Regions from separate parts of the Homo sapiens genome. Here all the other regions are linked to region 2. Evidence: promoter capture Hi-C in 16 types of primary human blood cells and fetal thymus (Javierre and others, 2016). All regions are on one chromosome and are shown on one strand. The core of a region is centred on a gene start or on the middle of the fragment in contact, and the rest is flanking DNA. Distances in the headings are between cores, read along the strand shown. Region 1 overlaps JAKMIP3 (Janus kinase and microtubule interacting protein 3). Region 2 holds the start of INPP5A (inositol polyphosphate-5-phosphatase A). Region 3 overlaps DPYSL4 (dihydropyrimidinase like 4). Region 4 overlaps STK32C (serine/threonine kinase 32C). Region 5 overlaps JAKMIP3 (Janus kinase and microtubule interacting protein 3).

What was found. The method cuts DNA at HindIII sites, captures the fragments that hold promoters and counts their contacts. A CHiCAGO score of 5 or more calls a contact.
Region 1: a contact is called between a fragment that was not itself captured here and the fragment with the promoter of INPP5A in region 2, in 3 of 17 cell types (activated CD4 T cells, naive CD4 T cells and non-activated CD4 T cells). The highest score is 11.3, in activated CD4 T cells.
Region 3: a fragment that was not itself captured here is called in contact with the fragment with the promoter of INPP5A in region 2 in 8 of 17 cell types (naive CD4 T cells, activated CD4 T cells, non-activated CD4 T cells and 5 more); the score reaches 13.8 in naive CD4 T cells.
Region 4: a contact is called between a fragment that was not itself captured here and the fragment with the promoter of INPP5A in region 2, in 12 of 17 cell types (monocytes, naive CD4 T cells, M0 macrophages and 9 more). The highest score is 10.1, in monocytes.
Region 5: a fragment that was not itself captured here is called in contact with the fragment with the promoter of INPP5A in region 2 in 7 of 17 cell types (naive CD4 T cells, activated CD4 T cells, non-activated CD4 T cells and 4 more); the score reaches 13.4 in naive CD4 T cells.

What each region holds. Positions count from the first base shown.
Region 1 is chr10:132,143,001-132,145,700 of GRCh38, forward strand. JAKMIP3 (Janus kinase and microtubule interacting protein 3) reads left to right here. Exons shown (of 24, transcript NM_001323087.2): 12 at 2,107-2,190; 13 at 2,518-2,580. Among named protein-coding and RNA genes, the nearest start is that of JAKMIP3-AS1, 42 kb to the right of the region's middle. RefSeq lists an enhancer at 1-342. The HindIII fragment of the contact is 1,755 bases long and covers 508-2,262 here.
Region 2 is chr10:132,536,536-132,539,235 of GRCh38, forward strand. It overlaps INPP5A (inositol polyphosphate-5-phosphatase A), which reads left to right and starts at 1,252. Exons shown (of 16, transcript NM_005539.5): 1 at 1,252-1,636. The coding sequence starts at 1,562. LOC107984282 (a long non-coding RNA gene) reads right to left here and starts at 388. Exons shown (of 4, transcript NR_158224.1): 1 at 191-388. RefSeq lists a silencer at 273-1,372 and an enhancer at 2,153-2,202. The HindIII fragment of the contact is 3,408 bases long and covers 214-2,700 here.
Region 3 is chr10:132,196,026-132,198,725 of GRCh38, forward strand. DPYSL4 (dihydropyrimidinase like 4) reads left to right here. Exons shown (of 14, transcript NM_006426.3): 5 at 836-897; 6 at 996-1,076; 7 at 2,390-2,458. Among named protein-coding and RNA genes, the nearest start is that of DPYSL4, 10 kb to the left of the region's middle. The HindIII fragment of the contact is 8,271 bases long and covers 1-2,700 here.
Region 4 is chr10:132,225,979-132,228,678 of GRCh38, forward strand. STK32C (serine/threonine kinase 32C) reads right to left here. Exons shown (of 12, transcript NM_173575.4): 3 at 1,999-2,150; 4 at 817-990. Among named protein-coding and RNA genes, the nearest start is that of DPYSL4, 40 kb to the left of the region's middle. The HindIII fragment of the contact is 5,425 bases long and covers 1-2,700 here.
Region 5 is chr10:132,178,865-132,181,564 of GRCh38, forward strand. All of the region lies in intron 23 of JAKMIP3 (Janus kinase and microtubule interacting protein 3), which reads left to right. JAKMIP3-AS1 (JAKMIP3 antisense RNA 1) reads right to left here. Exons shown (of 4, transcript NR_184044.1): 3 at 2,597-2,680; 4 at 1-176. Among named protein-coding and RNA genes, the nearest start is that of JAKMIP3-AS1, 6.5 kb to the right of the region's middle. The HindIII fragment of the contact is 8,704 bases long and covers 1-2,700 here.

The DNA of each region.
Region 1 (2,700 bases), core at 135-2,634, 390 kb before region 2:
CCAGCCTCATCCTCTGTCCACCCAGACCGCCCTGGTGACGTGGCTGGTTTCCCTCCTGCCTTCCTGGCACCTCATTGGGGACGTCTGTTGTGAAAACTAAGAGAGAGCTCCACCCCTCTGTGCCCTCCTCCTGTCCTGAGTCGGGGTGGGGGGGGCTGGCCTTGGAGGGGGCGTCCCCTCCTCAGGCTCGGAGAGATTTGTCTCCGTAACTGGGGACTTTAAATATCGCCTCTTTCACTTTGACTTAATTTTTGCATGACCCTTGGAGAAAGGAAAAAGTCAAGGCCTCGGTTCAGAGCATCATAAAGCACAGCAGCCCCGAGACATCCCAGAGCCTCATGGGCCCAGCCTTTCTCCCTCACAGCGGGGGCGGGGCAACAGCCGCATCCTCCTGGCCAAGCTCGCCAGGAGCTGGAGGAGCTGGAGAAAGCATCCTGTCTTCCCTTTTTCCTGTCGGGTGCCAGAGAAACATTTGCTCGGGGGCCACATGGAAGCAAAGAACTCAGAAGCTTTGCTTAGAGAGTAAAAATGTCCAAACTGCATGTAAAAAAAAGTTTAATGTCATTTAGAATCAGAGGAAAATCTGATGCCGAGAAGTGCTGCATGGTTATTTTAAAAACTAGAAGATACAGAAAAGATTAATGAAGAAAATAGACTAGCCGGCATCCCACAGTCTGATTCTGTATTATAATTGGAAATGTCACTCCTCACTGTGGAAATCGAGGAAGCCTCAGGATAAGGAAGGGGGCAGGAGAGGACAGGCGTCTGAAGACATGGACGTGGGCCCATCCCTGCCACGGTCCTGAGGCTGCAGGGGGCCCACAGCCCTCTGTGGGCTCCGTTTCCCTGTCCGGAAACAGGGTTAGGACTAACTGGAATTCCCTCTCTGCTAAGCATTCTCCAACCCAAGGGCTCACATCCACGATTGTGACCCCTTAAGGGAGGGAAGAGGCTGGGGTGATGGGAGGAGCCCAGGACGGCCTGGGGGCAGGGAGCTGGGACCAAGCACTCGGGGGCGGGCACCACAGGTCACGCCTTCGCCCACCCCCCACCCCGGCTGATGGATCCTCTGACCCTGCGTCCTGTCCCGAAACGCACCTCTCCCTTGGAAGCTATCCCCAGAGAGAGCAGGAGCCACTGTGGCCCCATGGTTCGGAGCCACCACAGCAAAGTGAATTAAGGGAGGTGGCTCAGACCTCGGCTAGAAGCCTCGGTGGCACTCGGGAGGGACTTCACAAACCAGGATGCGGACGGGGGAAGCGCCAGGGCTTTTCCTGTAGATGTGGGGCGGGCTCTGGGAGTCAGTTAAGGAACACAGAATTCAGGAAGGCAGTGAGCCCTGGGCTGAGGCAGCTCCCGCACAGGCAGCCACACCACCCGGGGCTTCCAGAGGGGCAGCTCCAGTACAGGCAGCGGCACCACCCGGGGCTTCCAGCGGGTCCATGTGGAGAGTCCCTCGAACAAAGCCCTCTGGCCGGCACCTGGCAGGGCTGAGCACACGCTAGGCCTCAGTCATCCTCATTGGCTGTGTCATCCTGTAAACAAAGATTTCTCCTAACAGGCTCTCAAAATCAACCTGCAGGATTTCCCCTTAGAATCTAAGTGAGATCTCTTGCTTCAAATAAGCCTTAAAGTTCTCCCTCCAGGGCTGGGCGCAGTGGCTCACTCCTGTAATCCCAGCACTTTGGGAGGCTGAGGCAAGTGGGTTGCTCGAACTCAGGAGTTTGATACCAGCCTGGGCAACATGGTGAAACCCCGTCTCTACAAAAAATACAAAAATTAGTGGGGTGTGGTGGTGCATACCTGTGGTCCCAGTTACTCAGGATGGTGAGGTGGGAGGATCACTTGAGCTCGGGAGGCGGAGGTTACAGTGAGCCAAGATTGTGCCACTGAGCTCCAGTCTGGATGACAGAGCCAAACCCTGTCTCAAAAAAAAACAAAACAGTTCTCCCTCTCTTAGAAAGCATCTCTTCCAAAGGAAGGGCGAACAGTCACTTCTCAATGAACTGAACCAAAAGACAGACCCTTCTGACGTCCCACGAGTGTGTGTGCTGTCTGTCCCAGCTTTTAGAGAAAATTTGATGTATCTTTCCTCCCGTCCTACAGACCCGTGAGCAGCTACAAGCCGAAGTGCAGAGGGCACAGGCGCGGATAGAGGACCTGGAGAAGGCCCTGGCGGAGCAGGGGCAGGTGAGCCTGCAGCCATCTGCACGGGCGTGGGGGCACACGTGGGTGGGAGGTATTTGGCTGTACCTAAAGACAAGCTTCAGTGGTGCGATCATAACTTTCTACAGCCTTGACCTCCTGGGCTCAAGCCATCCTCCCACCTCAGCCTCCTGAGTAGCTGGGACCACAGGCATGTGCCACCACGCCCGGCTAATTTTTGTATTTTTTGTAGAGACGGGGCTTTGCCACGCTGGCCAGACTGGTCTTTGGTGTTCTGCCACATCACGATTTAAACGTTGGTTTATGAGTTCCTCCCTCAGTGTCTTTATTTCTTTCAATTCCATTTGCAAGGATATGAAGTGGATTGAAGAGAAGCAGGCACTGTACCGGAGAAATCAAGAGCTTGTGGAAAAGGTGAGCCCCGAACCCCTGGAGGCCCTGGCAGGACTCGCTCTATGCTCCTGGGGGTTGCAGTGGTCCCTGCGGGGCTGAAGGATGGAGCGAGGGCTGAGGCTTCTGAATGGCTGTCCCAGG
Region 2 (2,700 bases), core at 2-2,501:
CACTGGCCACACAGGGCTGCTGAGCACTGGAAGCGGCCTTGTGAGCTGCTGCCAAGAGGCAGGTGCCCGTGCAAAGCCTTCCTGTGAAGGAATCTCACTGAGGTTGTTAAATTCTGGTTACATGTTGAATGATGTATCTATCTATTGGGTTAAGTAAAACGTATTGTTAACTTTGGCTATTACTTGTTACCTTTAAAAAATGTAGCTACTGGAAGCTTTAAGATGACAAATGTGGTTCTCCTCCTCCATCTACAGGCATGTCCCGGTTCACGGCGGCTGTGTCCCCGCGGCCTCAGACCCAGGGTCCAGCCCATGCTCTGGCCCCTCCGGCGGCCAGGATCAGCATCGCTGCCCCGGGGCCCGCGCCGAGCCGGCTGCTCCTCCGTGCTCTGCGCTCCTGGGCCCGCACCAGCCCCCTCCCCTGGAGCCCCCTTCGTCCCTGCGAGGGTTCCCTGCACGCCCCGCGCTGAGACCCAGCCTGGCCCGGGCCGGAGCCCTCCGCGACGTCAGGATGCGCCTGGCCTCACGCCGCCTCCCCTCCGTCTTCTCTGGGCCGCAGCCGCTCCTCGTGAGTGAGGTCGCGGCCAGGGAGCCGGGTGGACGCGCCGGGAAGCTGCACGGTCCACGCTCCGTCTGCGCGGAGAGCCGGGCGCGCGTGGCCCGGCCCCTGCAGGCGCGACTGCCGCCGCCCCGGTGGGCTCCCCTCCCCCGCACGCCCGGCACGCGGCTGGACGACTGCGGCCGCGCGGGGGCTGGAACATCCCCTCAGAGCCGCAAGAGAGCGCACCCGCCGCCGGCGCCCGGAACCCAGGGCCCCTTTAAGAGGCGCCGCCGGAGCAGGGCCGTGACGTCATAGAAGTGCGAAGGGCGGAGTCTGTGCGCAGCCGCGGCGCGGGGGGCGGGGCGGGGGCGCGGCGTTCTTGCGGGCCTGACTGACAGGAGCGCCCTCCGGGAGCGACCAGTACTAGGCCGCCGGTCGCAAGAGCGCCCCGCGTAGGCCCCGCCCCGAAAGGAGGCCCCGCCCCGGGGCAGGCCCCGCCTCCACAAGGACACCAAGTCCCGCACAAGCCACGCCCCCCGCAGGCCCCGCCCCACTCTGTTCAGATCTAGGCCCAACTCAGGCTCCGCACCTCAAGGCTCCGCCCCCAGCAAGGCTCCGCCCCAGGCCCGGCTCCACCCCGCACAGGCCCCACCCCGAGTCAGGCTCCGCCCCGCCCAGGCCCCGCCCCGGGCTCGGCTCCGCGGGGCGGGACTTGCCCTCAGCCTGAGTCGGCGGCGGCTGCGGGAACTTTCCCAGCGGATCTAATGGCTGCGCGCGGGCCGCTGTGAGGCGCGGCGGCGAGCGACGGGCGCGGGGCCGCGGAGCAGCGAGCGAGCGAGCGAGCGCGAGGCCGGAGCCCCGGCCAGGCCCGGCCGACCCGCCGAGCCCGCGATGCGCCCCGGGGCCGCCCCCCGGCGCAGCTGACGCCCCGCGGCCCCGCGAAGACCCCGGCCGGCCGGTCCCGGAGGAAGCGGCCGCCGCCGCCGCCGCCCAGCCCAGCGCCCGCGCCGCCCGGGCACCATGGCGGGGAAGGCGGCCGCCCCGGGCACCGCGGTGCTGCTGGTCACGGCCAACGTGGGCTCGCTCTTCGACGACGTAAGTCCCCCGTGCCGGCGGCAGGCCCCAAGCCCGGAACCCCCGACCCTGACCCCGGGGTCCCGAACTGCAAGCCTTGGACCCTGGACCGTGAACCTCCAGACCCAGAGGCCCCAGACTCTGATCCCTGTACCCGGGACCCCAGACTCCTGTCCTGATTCCCAAGTCTGGGAGCCCAGACCCCTGTCTTGATCCCCAAGCCCGAGACCTGAAGACCTGGGCCCTGAATCCCCGAACCCCATCCTCCAGACTCCAGCAGCTGACCGTTGACCCTGGGACCCTGCCTCTGAACTCCTGTCTGCAAATCCTGACCTCGAAACTCCAATATTAAAACCCTGTCAGAACCCCTGTTAACAGTTCCTGGAACCCAAACCCCAGAAACCGGGTCTGTGCGCACCAAACCCAGCCCCAGCCCTGATTTCCGAATCCTCAGAACCCTGGCCCTGGAATGCCCATCCCCAACCCTGGCCCTGAACCCCAGGTCCATGGTCACTGGAACCACAAATCCTGACTGCAGAACTCTGGTTACAGAACCTGCTCTCAAACGTCTGTCTCTGGTCCCTGAGCCCTGGACCCCAAACCCTGAAACATAACCACAAACCCTAACCCAGGAACTTCTGACACAGGGCTGTGGCCCCAACCTCCTGTCCCTGTTCCCCAATCACTGAATTCTAGCCCTAGAATCCCAGCCTTCATACTGTGGCCCTTTGCCTCTAAAGCCAATCTAGCCTGACTCTGAACCCTGAATTTCAACCTCAGGCCCCAGCTTATGGCCCTGAACACTTGTCCTTGACCCCTGAACCTGGAACCCTGGTTCCAGAATCAGGCCCCAAACCCAATTCTGGACCCTGCCCCTAACTCTGGTTCCTAGATCCCATCCTTGGCCCCTTCCTCCAACAAGCTCCTGCCCCTGAATCCTGAATCCTGAATCCTGGTCTTAAAGCCTGGGCCTTGAGCCTGCAGAATTCCCAAACCCTAACCCTTGACTCCCACCCCTGGCCCCTGTCCTCTGAGCCTAGGCCCTCCACTCTGGCTGTCAGCCCCAGCTCCTGGATGCCTGGGTG
Region 3 (2,700 bases), core at 85-2,584, 340 kb before region 2:
GCCTCAAACTCCAGGTCACATACAGGTTGCTACCTGGAGGGATGGCTTGTGGGGCACAGTGTGACTCAGTTTCCCCAGTGTGCCTTAGCTTGTCACACTAGCACTTTCCACCCAGCGAGGAGGAGATGCCATGGGTTGGGTGGGCTTGAGTGATGGGAGGTTGGGATCCTGCCTCCAGGCCCAGGCCGGTCCCCACACAAGTTCCGAGTCCTGGGGGAGGTGGATGGGCTGTGGCTGCCCAGGAAACAGGAGAGCTCAGCCCTCTTCCTGTTTGGGCCCCAACGTCAGAGGCAGCCCCTCATCCTTCTGCTCGTCCTAAGGGCCCAGCCCTGAGATCTGGGTGGTCCCACAAGCCTGCACTGTGAGCCAGGCATGGCAAGTGGGGCTCCAAGGCCCTGCAGGCAGGTGCTGGATGTGCTGGACGGCCAGAATGCAGGTCCCCAGCACAGCGCGGCCCTGGCCGCACTTCCAGGAGGGAGCCAGTGGAACCCAGGCCGAGAGCCCAGGCACAGCGGCTCTTCCAGTAACGGGGGGTCTGCTGGATGGGTGTGAGGGGTTCTCACCTGCATTTGCCGCTGGGTGGACAATCAGTTCCTAACCCGGAGCACAGGAGCAGGCAAGGAGGGCCTGGATGTAGCTGCCTCCGCCTCACTTCCCAGCTTGCTGGTGTGTGCATGGAAGCGGGGGACTGCTCCCAGGGCTGGCAAGCCAGTGAGGGAAGCACTGCGGGGGAGGGGCCCAAGACCCCCAACCCTCCAGTGGGCAGGAGCAGCAGAGGCTCCGTAGGTTGTCTGACTGGTGATGGCTGAGCCTCTGACCCCTGCCTCTTCTCCAGGTGTGAACTCCTTCCTGGTCTTCATGGCATACAAGGACCGGTGCCAGTGCAGCGACAGCCAGGTAAGGGCAGGCGTGGGGAACGGAGTGGGCAGGTATATCCCAGGCCGCTGCTGGTGCAGGCGCAGCCCCACCCAGGACGCCACCACTTCTCTTCCCAGATGTACGAGATCTTCAGCATCATCCGGGACCTGGGGGCCTTGGCCCAGGTGCACGCTGAGAACGGGGACATCGTGGAGGAGGTGCCGTGGGGCAGGGCTGCCGTGGGGCAGGCACAGGGGCTGCCGTGGGGCAGGGGCTGCCTGTGGGGTGGGGCAGGGGTCTGAGGGTGACTTTCATGATACGCAGACATCAGCACAGAATCCCACAAAACCTTGAGGGAGGGTCATAGCTTACCCCGAGTCAAAGGTCAACCAGTGAGTTAGAGAGACTGGGGGGTGATGGGGAGCTTTGAGGCCATAAAACAGCTTCTCCTTGATCAACACTTCTTATCCAAAATACCTCAAAAGCAAAGTGTCAGCCCCAGGGATCGAGGCCCCTCCTGTGGAGCGGGGTACCCGCTGGGGGTTGGGTTACCACCTTCCTTCCAGCCAAGGGCACCCATGTTGACAGGGCCACATCCTTCAGACACATCCCACCGGGCTGGGGAGGGCCTGAGCCCGCGTGCAGTGGCGCCGACCCCCCAGGCCCTTGGGGCTGAGGCAACCTTGGCCCTGCACCTTGTTTTCCCCTCTAGCAGAGGCACCCACAGGTACAGATGGAGTTCAGAGAGTGGGCCACCCCATACCCGTGGGACCTCAGTGGGGGTCACCACACAGGACACACCTCCCTGACACTGCAAACCCACAGTGAGACTTCGTGGGACGGGACGGGCTCTGCCCACCTCCTGAGCTCTACAGGAAGGTGGTGGCACTCGGGCAGGGGCATGTGGGGGGTCCCCAGTGTCCTCGTCCACCCGTCCAGCTGTGAGGGCATCGGGGCATCACAAACACTTCTGTGGCCCAAGGCCAGGCCCCGGCTGCACCGTCAGGAGGTTGTCCTGGGTCTAGGGATGCTCCACATACAGCGGGAGGGAGCCTCAGTATTGGGGCTGCTGCTTCTGGCCGGTACCATGTCTTCCCTGACACGAGCGGATGCCGTAGTGCAAATCTGCACGGAAAGGCAGTGCTGGAGGAAGGAGTGGTCGTCCATTCCTGACCTGCAGAGCCCTCCCTGCCTGTGCACACCCCCACACATGCCCCCGCTGGGGGAGGCAGCGTGATGGGCATAGTGGTGGGAGGGTGGGGTCTTGGTGCCATCAGTCAGGAGCCCTGCAGCCTTGGGGGAGCCACTTTCCCCTATCCGAGCTGTCCCCTCCTTGGTAACTCAGGGAGCAGGAATCACACCTCTCCAAGCCCCTCTGCCCTCTATTCTGAGTGTTCTGTGGCTGGGAAATTCTGGGAGGCCTGGGGGTCCAGGACCACTTGGGGAATGGGGCCTCCCAGCCTTGGGCTTAGCATCCAAGGCCCAGGCTCCCTTCAGGGCTTGGAGCGAGGCATCCTGTTGGTTTCTTTAGGAGCAGAAGCGGTTGCTGGAGCTCGGCATCACTGGCCCCGAGGGCCACGTGCTCAGCCACCCCGAGGAGGTAAGATCCCAGGGCACCACAGCACACCCGAGCCAACTCCGCCCAGACCACTGCTGCCTGGGGCTGTGCTGACCCTGGCCCTGGGCTCCTGGCCCTGCCACTGTGCTCGCCCCGACCTCATCTGGGAGGCGTGAATCCTCCCCGTGCCAGGCACTTGTCCTCCATCCCCCCACAACCCTACAGCCTGTACCCGAGGCCCAGAAGGTGGCGTGGGCAGGCCCAGGCACTGAGCCCGAGGCTGG
Region 4 (2,700 bases), core at 182-2,681, 310 kb before region 2:
CACTTCGTTCCCTGTGGCATCTGGGCAGCAGCACACACCTGGCACCAGATGCTGGGAGGGGGCCTGGAGCCCCAGAGGACGAGAGCAATTGCTGGCAGGGTCTGCCCTCCCCCTCCAAGACTCGGCCTCTAGGAGACCAAGCCACCTCGGCTCTTGCTTTGTCCCAACTTTTCCAGGTACACAGCCAGTGCTCAGTGACTGGTGCCTAGGTCATAATCAGACATCCGAGTCCCCAAGAGCAGAAATGCAAACACCAGTCCATTCGACTTTAAAATATACCTCACAGATATTTTCATTTTGTTCCATTGCTGCGGAATTTCAGCCTAATTTCTGCTTCCCAATTTCACTTCCTTCATAATCTGCTTCCTATTTTCTTTTTTTAAATTTTATTTTCAGAGCCATCACACCAGCTCTGCTTCCTAATTTCATCTGCTTTAAGCTAATGTTAAAATTAGTTTGGATTCCCTGGGATGTGGTGGATGGGCAAACAGGAGCCTTCAGTTAAATGGACCAGGTGAAGGCCACCTGCTGTGACCCAGCCTGGTGGTCTGTCCACCAGGGCTAACAGCCCACTGTGCCCAGTCTCAGCTGGGGCTGCTGGGACGAGGTCCCCCCAGATGGACACCAGGCACACAGCTATGGGGCTGACCTGGTCGGCACAGGTGCCACAGCTGGGGGCAGGCACTCAGGCAAGGGTGGGGCAGAGGAGCTAGACCCGCTCTGAGGGAGTACGGCCGCCGTGCCGGCAGCCTGACCTAAGGCTGCTTCAGCCCCGCCCACCTCAGCAGGTACCTGCGCCGTCTGCCACGCACACACCTGTGGATGATGTGCTGGCCGCGCAGGTAGTCCAGAGCCAGTGCCATCTCGCAGATGTACAGCCTCACCGTGTCCTCGGAGAACTGCACGTTCTGCTGCAGGTGGTAGCGCAGGTCCCCGCCCAGTAGCAGGTCCACGACCATGAACATGTCCTCCTCGTCCTGGAAGGAGTACCTGTGGGCACCGATGGAAGGCCTGTTGTGCGCACAGCTGGGGAGCCAGTCATGGCTGCTCCCACAGCTGACACACTCCCCCTAAGGACCACAGCCCCACCCCAGCATCAGCCACCAGGCATTCCCAGGAGGAGGGGCCTGCCCAAGGCACTGATTGCACCCCAGCCCAGAGCAGCTCTGAGCCCAGATCCTGAGGAAAGACACACCACCCTGTGCTGGAGGTGGCCCAGCTGGGGCCAGAGGCACCTGGGAGTGGCAAATGCAGAGCAGAGCTACAGTGCCAGCTCCGGGTGCTTCAGGCTGCCCGGCCTCCTCTTCGGTAAAATGGGGATACAGACATTTGCCTCGGAGGGTTGTTACAGAAAATGAGGCCGTGTAGGTACCACTCTTGACAGTGTTGGGCAAAGAGCTGGCATTTAACAACCAGCATCCATGGTGTTGACGATGGCAGTGATGGTGGTGGTGGTGACGGTGATGGTGAGGATGACGGTAGTGAGGACTGAGGGTGGTGGTGATGGTGATAACAGTGATTGTGGTCGTGGTGGTGGTGGTAATGGTGGTGACAATAGTGATTGTGTTGATTATAGTGATGACGGTGATGAGAGTGATGATGGTTGCAGTGGTGATGGTGGTGGTGATGGCGATGATGGTGGTGATGGTGATGGTGATGACAGTGGTGAGTTTTTCAGTCCCTAAACTCTCTCCCTCTCTGACTAGTGCCAGAGACTCCATGGGAGCACATCTCCATTGTAGGGAAGCCCTGGTCTTCCGGCAGGCTCAGAAGAGACACTGCATTAACCAACCCCAGCATGTCATGGCCACCTGGGCCACTGCCAGGCCTGGGGCACAGGAAGGGGGATAGATGAGGAGGGCTAGAGAGGGCCTGTGGGTGGCAGAGGCATCTCCGAGGCACGAGGGCCAAGGAGCACCAAGGGCAGGAGAGGATAGCCAGTGCCTTCCCGGCTTCAGGACGGTAAGTCTTTCTGCAGCGAGGCCATGGCAGGCTCACCAGAGGTTCACCAGGAAGACGTGCTCGATCTCCTGCAGGATCTCCAGCTCCCGGAAGACGTTGCGGACCTCGTCGCGCTCGATGCACTGCTGCTTGTTCATGTACTTCATGGCGTACATCTTCTCCGTGTCCCGCTTCTGCACAATGCACACCTGGAGGGCACAGGGCTGTTCGGCAGGACGCCTGAGGACGCCTGGGGACACGTGGGGACACCTGGAAATGCATGGGGATGCCTGGGGACGCATCGTCAGGACACAAGGGGACACCTGGGGACGCGCCGCAGCCCCTCTGCCTCCTAGACGCGGCAGGTGCATTCCTCTCTGCCACATATGGTAACATATTTGCTCTGGGGATTAAGATGTGGGTGTTTTGGAGGCCGTGATTCTGCCCCCCAGAGGTTCCTGTACTGGTTAGTGTGTGGCCCTGGCGGCACCTGTCTCAGTGACATCCTGGCTCCATGGCTGTTAGTGAAGACCCCTCCCTGAGACTCAGTCCTGCGTTTCAAGTCTGCAGCAGGACACATCTGTCAACAGGCGCTATCTGCAAACAGACAGGGTCCAGCCTAACAGCATCCAGGCGTGAGTTGGAGCCAAGCAGTGGCTGGTTGTGCGGGGAGCGCCCCTCACCAGCCACGACCTGGGCATGGAGTTTTGCCTTCCTAAACCCCAACATCCTTTTCCAGGGCTTGGAGCAGCAAGCAGC
Region 5 (2,700 bases), core at 59-2,558, 360 kb before region 2:
ACGGCAGGGGCCTGTTCCTCCGGCTCTGTTTTGACATCAATCAGAATGCTGTTTCCTGATCCATATGTACGACTACGTCTGCACGTGGTACCCATGGTGGTATTGATGAGGGTTCTGCCCTGCAGCTTTTAGCGAGGTTCTGGTGCCTTCGTGCCCGTGGGGCTGGGGGCCCCGACCTGTGGAAACACCCTGTGTCAGCCCTGGGTGGTGCCCCAGGCATGCTGCCATCTCCTGTCCCTGCTGCCGCCCTTGGCACTGTCCAATGAGCCAAGTTCATGATTGTGGTTGTCAACTTGTTCCTACACTTCATCAGCTATCCTCGTTGCAGCCCAAGATAAAATTACCCAGGCTTTCCCCTCCAGCGTGAAGGGCAGGGGCCCTCAGTGCTCATCCTCCCCCAGCATCATGCACGGTCACGGGGCTGTATTTGTTGACGGGACTTTTGGGCTCCCCGGGCTCTGAGCTGGTTGGGGCTCCACCTGCACTATGCCTGAGCTCCCCACATCCTACCTCTCTCCTGTCACTCGAAGCTCAGCCACCTGAGCAGCACTTTCCTGCCCCCTCCCTGAGAACTGGGAGCTCTTGGGATGAGGATTATCTGGGTTTCTCCCGCGGAACCCTTACTGTGGCACTGATACACTCACATAAACATTTGCCACGTGAATGGCCAAGTACGTAAAAGAATGCGCTCCCTGAAGGCAATTCGCAGCCCCATGTTCCCCCCACCCCCCACACTTCCAGGCAACAGTGAAAGCAGATGTTCTGGGGGTCCCCGAGACCACCTGCATCTCTGGGGACTCGCTAGGATTCACAGGACTCAGCACACAGTCACACCACAGCAGGGCCACACCACGGCAGGGTCGCACCACAGCAGGGTCACGCCACGGCAGGGTCACACCACAACAGCCACACCATGGCACAGCCACACCATTATCGCAGCCCTATAATCGGGAGGCATGGCTGGATCTGCAAGGGAAGAGTTCACAGGCACAGCCTGGAGAGGCCTGTGAGCAGACTTCCTGTGCTCTCTCCCCTCCCATGCTCTTCCCCCTGTGAGGTGCACACGGGGCACACACTCCCTCCAGCAGCAAAACACAGCCCCATATATGCAGTGTTTCTGCTCGGGAAATTCCAGCTAAGACCCAAAATTCATGGTTTTGATTTGGGGGCTACTCAGTTGTGCGCCCCCCACCCACTAACATGCCAGGCCCTCAAAAGGAAGGCTGGTGTTTGCCATGAATCACATTGTTTGCACAGTCTAGGCAGGAACCTCCTCACTAAAGGAATGCTTCGAAGCCAAGTTCCCAGACGCCAGCCAATGGCCACCGTTGCAAGCAGGCACTTCTGCAGCTAGCAGCCTCAGGCCTGTCCACAGAGACACTCTTGAGTGAGGACCCTGGGGTGCCAGAGCTTGCTTGGGGGCATTGAGGAGCCCCATGGAGCCACAGAGACCAAGGCCAGACCCATGGATGGCTGCCTCCCACCTGTCCTGTGCCTGACATGGCTCCAGTTTGGATGAGGTCCTCAGCTGACTGTGAGGGACAGTGCCCAGAAAGGGGAGGGTGGGTGGGAGGGAGAAGATCACGTTCCCTAGAAGAGACGGAACAGATGGGGTAGGGCGGGAGGGATTTGGGAAGACTGCAAACCTGGAAGCAGAACTGTGTGTGTGTGTGTGTGTGTGCGTGCGTGCATGCGTGTGTGTGCGTGTGTGTGTGCGTGCGCGTGTGTGTGTGCGTGCGCGTGTGTGTGTGCGTGTGTGTGCGTGTGTGCGTGCGTGTGTGCGTGTGCGTGTGCGTGTGTGCGTGTGTGTGCGCGCGCGTGTGTGTGCGTGCGTGTGTGTGTGCGCGTGTGTGTGCGTGTGTGTGCGTGTGTGCGTGCGTGCGCGCGCGTGTGTGCGTGTGTGTGCGTGTGTGTGTGTGCGCGTATGCATGTGCTGTGAGTGGTGTGTTGTGTATGCATGTGTGTATATATCGTGTGCATGTGTGTGCTGTGTGTGAGTGGTGTCTTTGGGCATGTGCATGTATGTGTATGTGTTGTGCATTGCATGTGCCTGTATGTGTATTTTGCATTGTGTGTACACATGTACAGTGCATTTGTGCGTATTGTGTGGGCATGTGTGTGTAGTGTATTGTGTGTACATGCATGTGCAGTGTGTATGTGCTGTTTGCACATGTGCAGGTATGTGTATTGTGCATTGTGTGTACGTGCACATGTAGTGTGTGTGTGTGAGTGGTATGTTGCGGCCATGGATGGGGCAGAAAGTCTCCTGTTCTGGAAATAGGGCAGTGAGTGGAGTGTGCTGACAATGGAGAGCAGCAGCTGGCTCTGGAGAGGGATCAAGTGACCACAGGAAACCAAATGCTCTGGTCTTGTTCCTTTAATTTGGGGAGTGAGTTTTTAAAATTCAGCATCATATTTTCAACAAGACCTCTGTTCTCTATTTGCATGTGCCTAGTTCATACTCCAGGCAGTTGATCACATAATTCAGAGAGGCATTGACAGGGTGGGAGTGTTTCTGGGTAGGTGTCCAGATCCCCGGCCCTTCTCAGCCTGGAAGTGTCACCGAGGGAAATCCCTGTTTTACATGGGGCTTCACCTTTTCCCTCTGTAAAATATGAGGGCTGGACTGGCAGGTCCCCTTCCTCCTGTACCTTCTAGAGATCGATGGTTCCGGGACAACCTATTTAGAAACGAACCCGA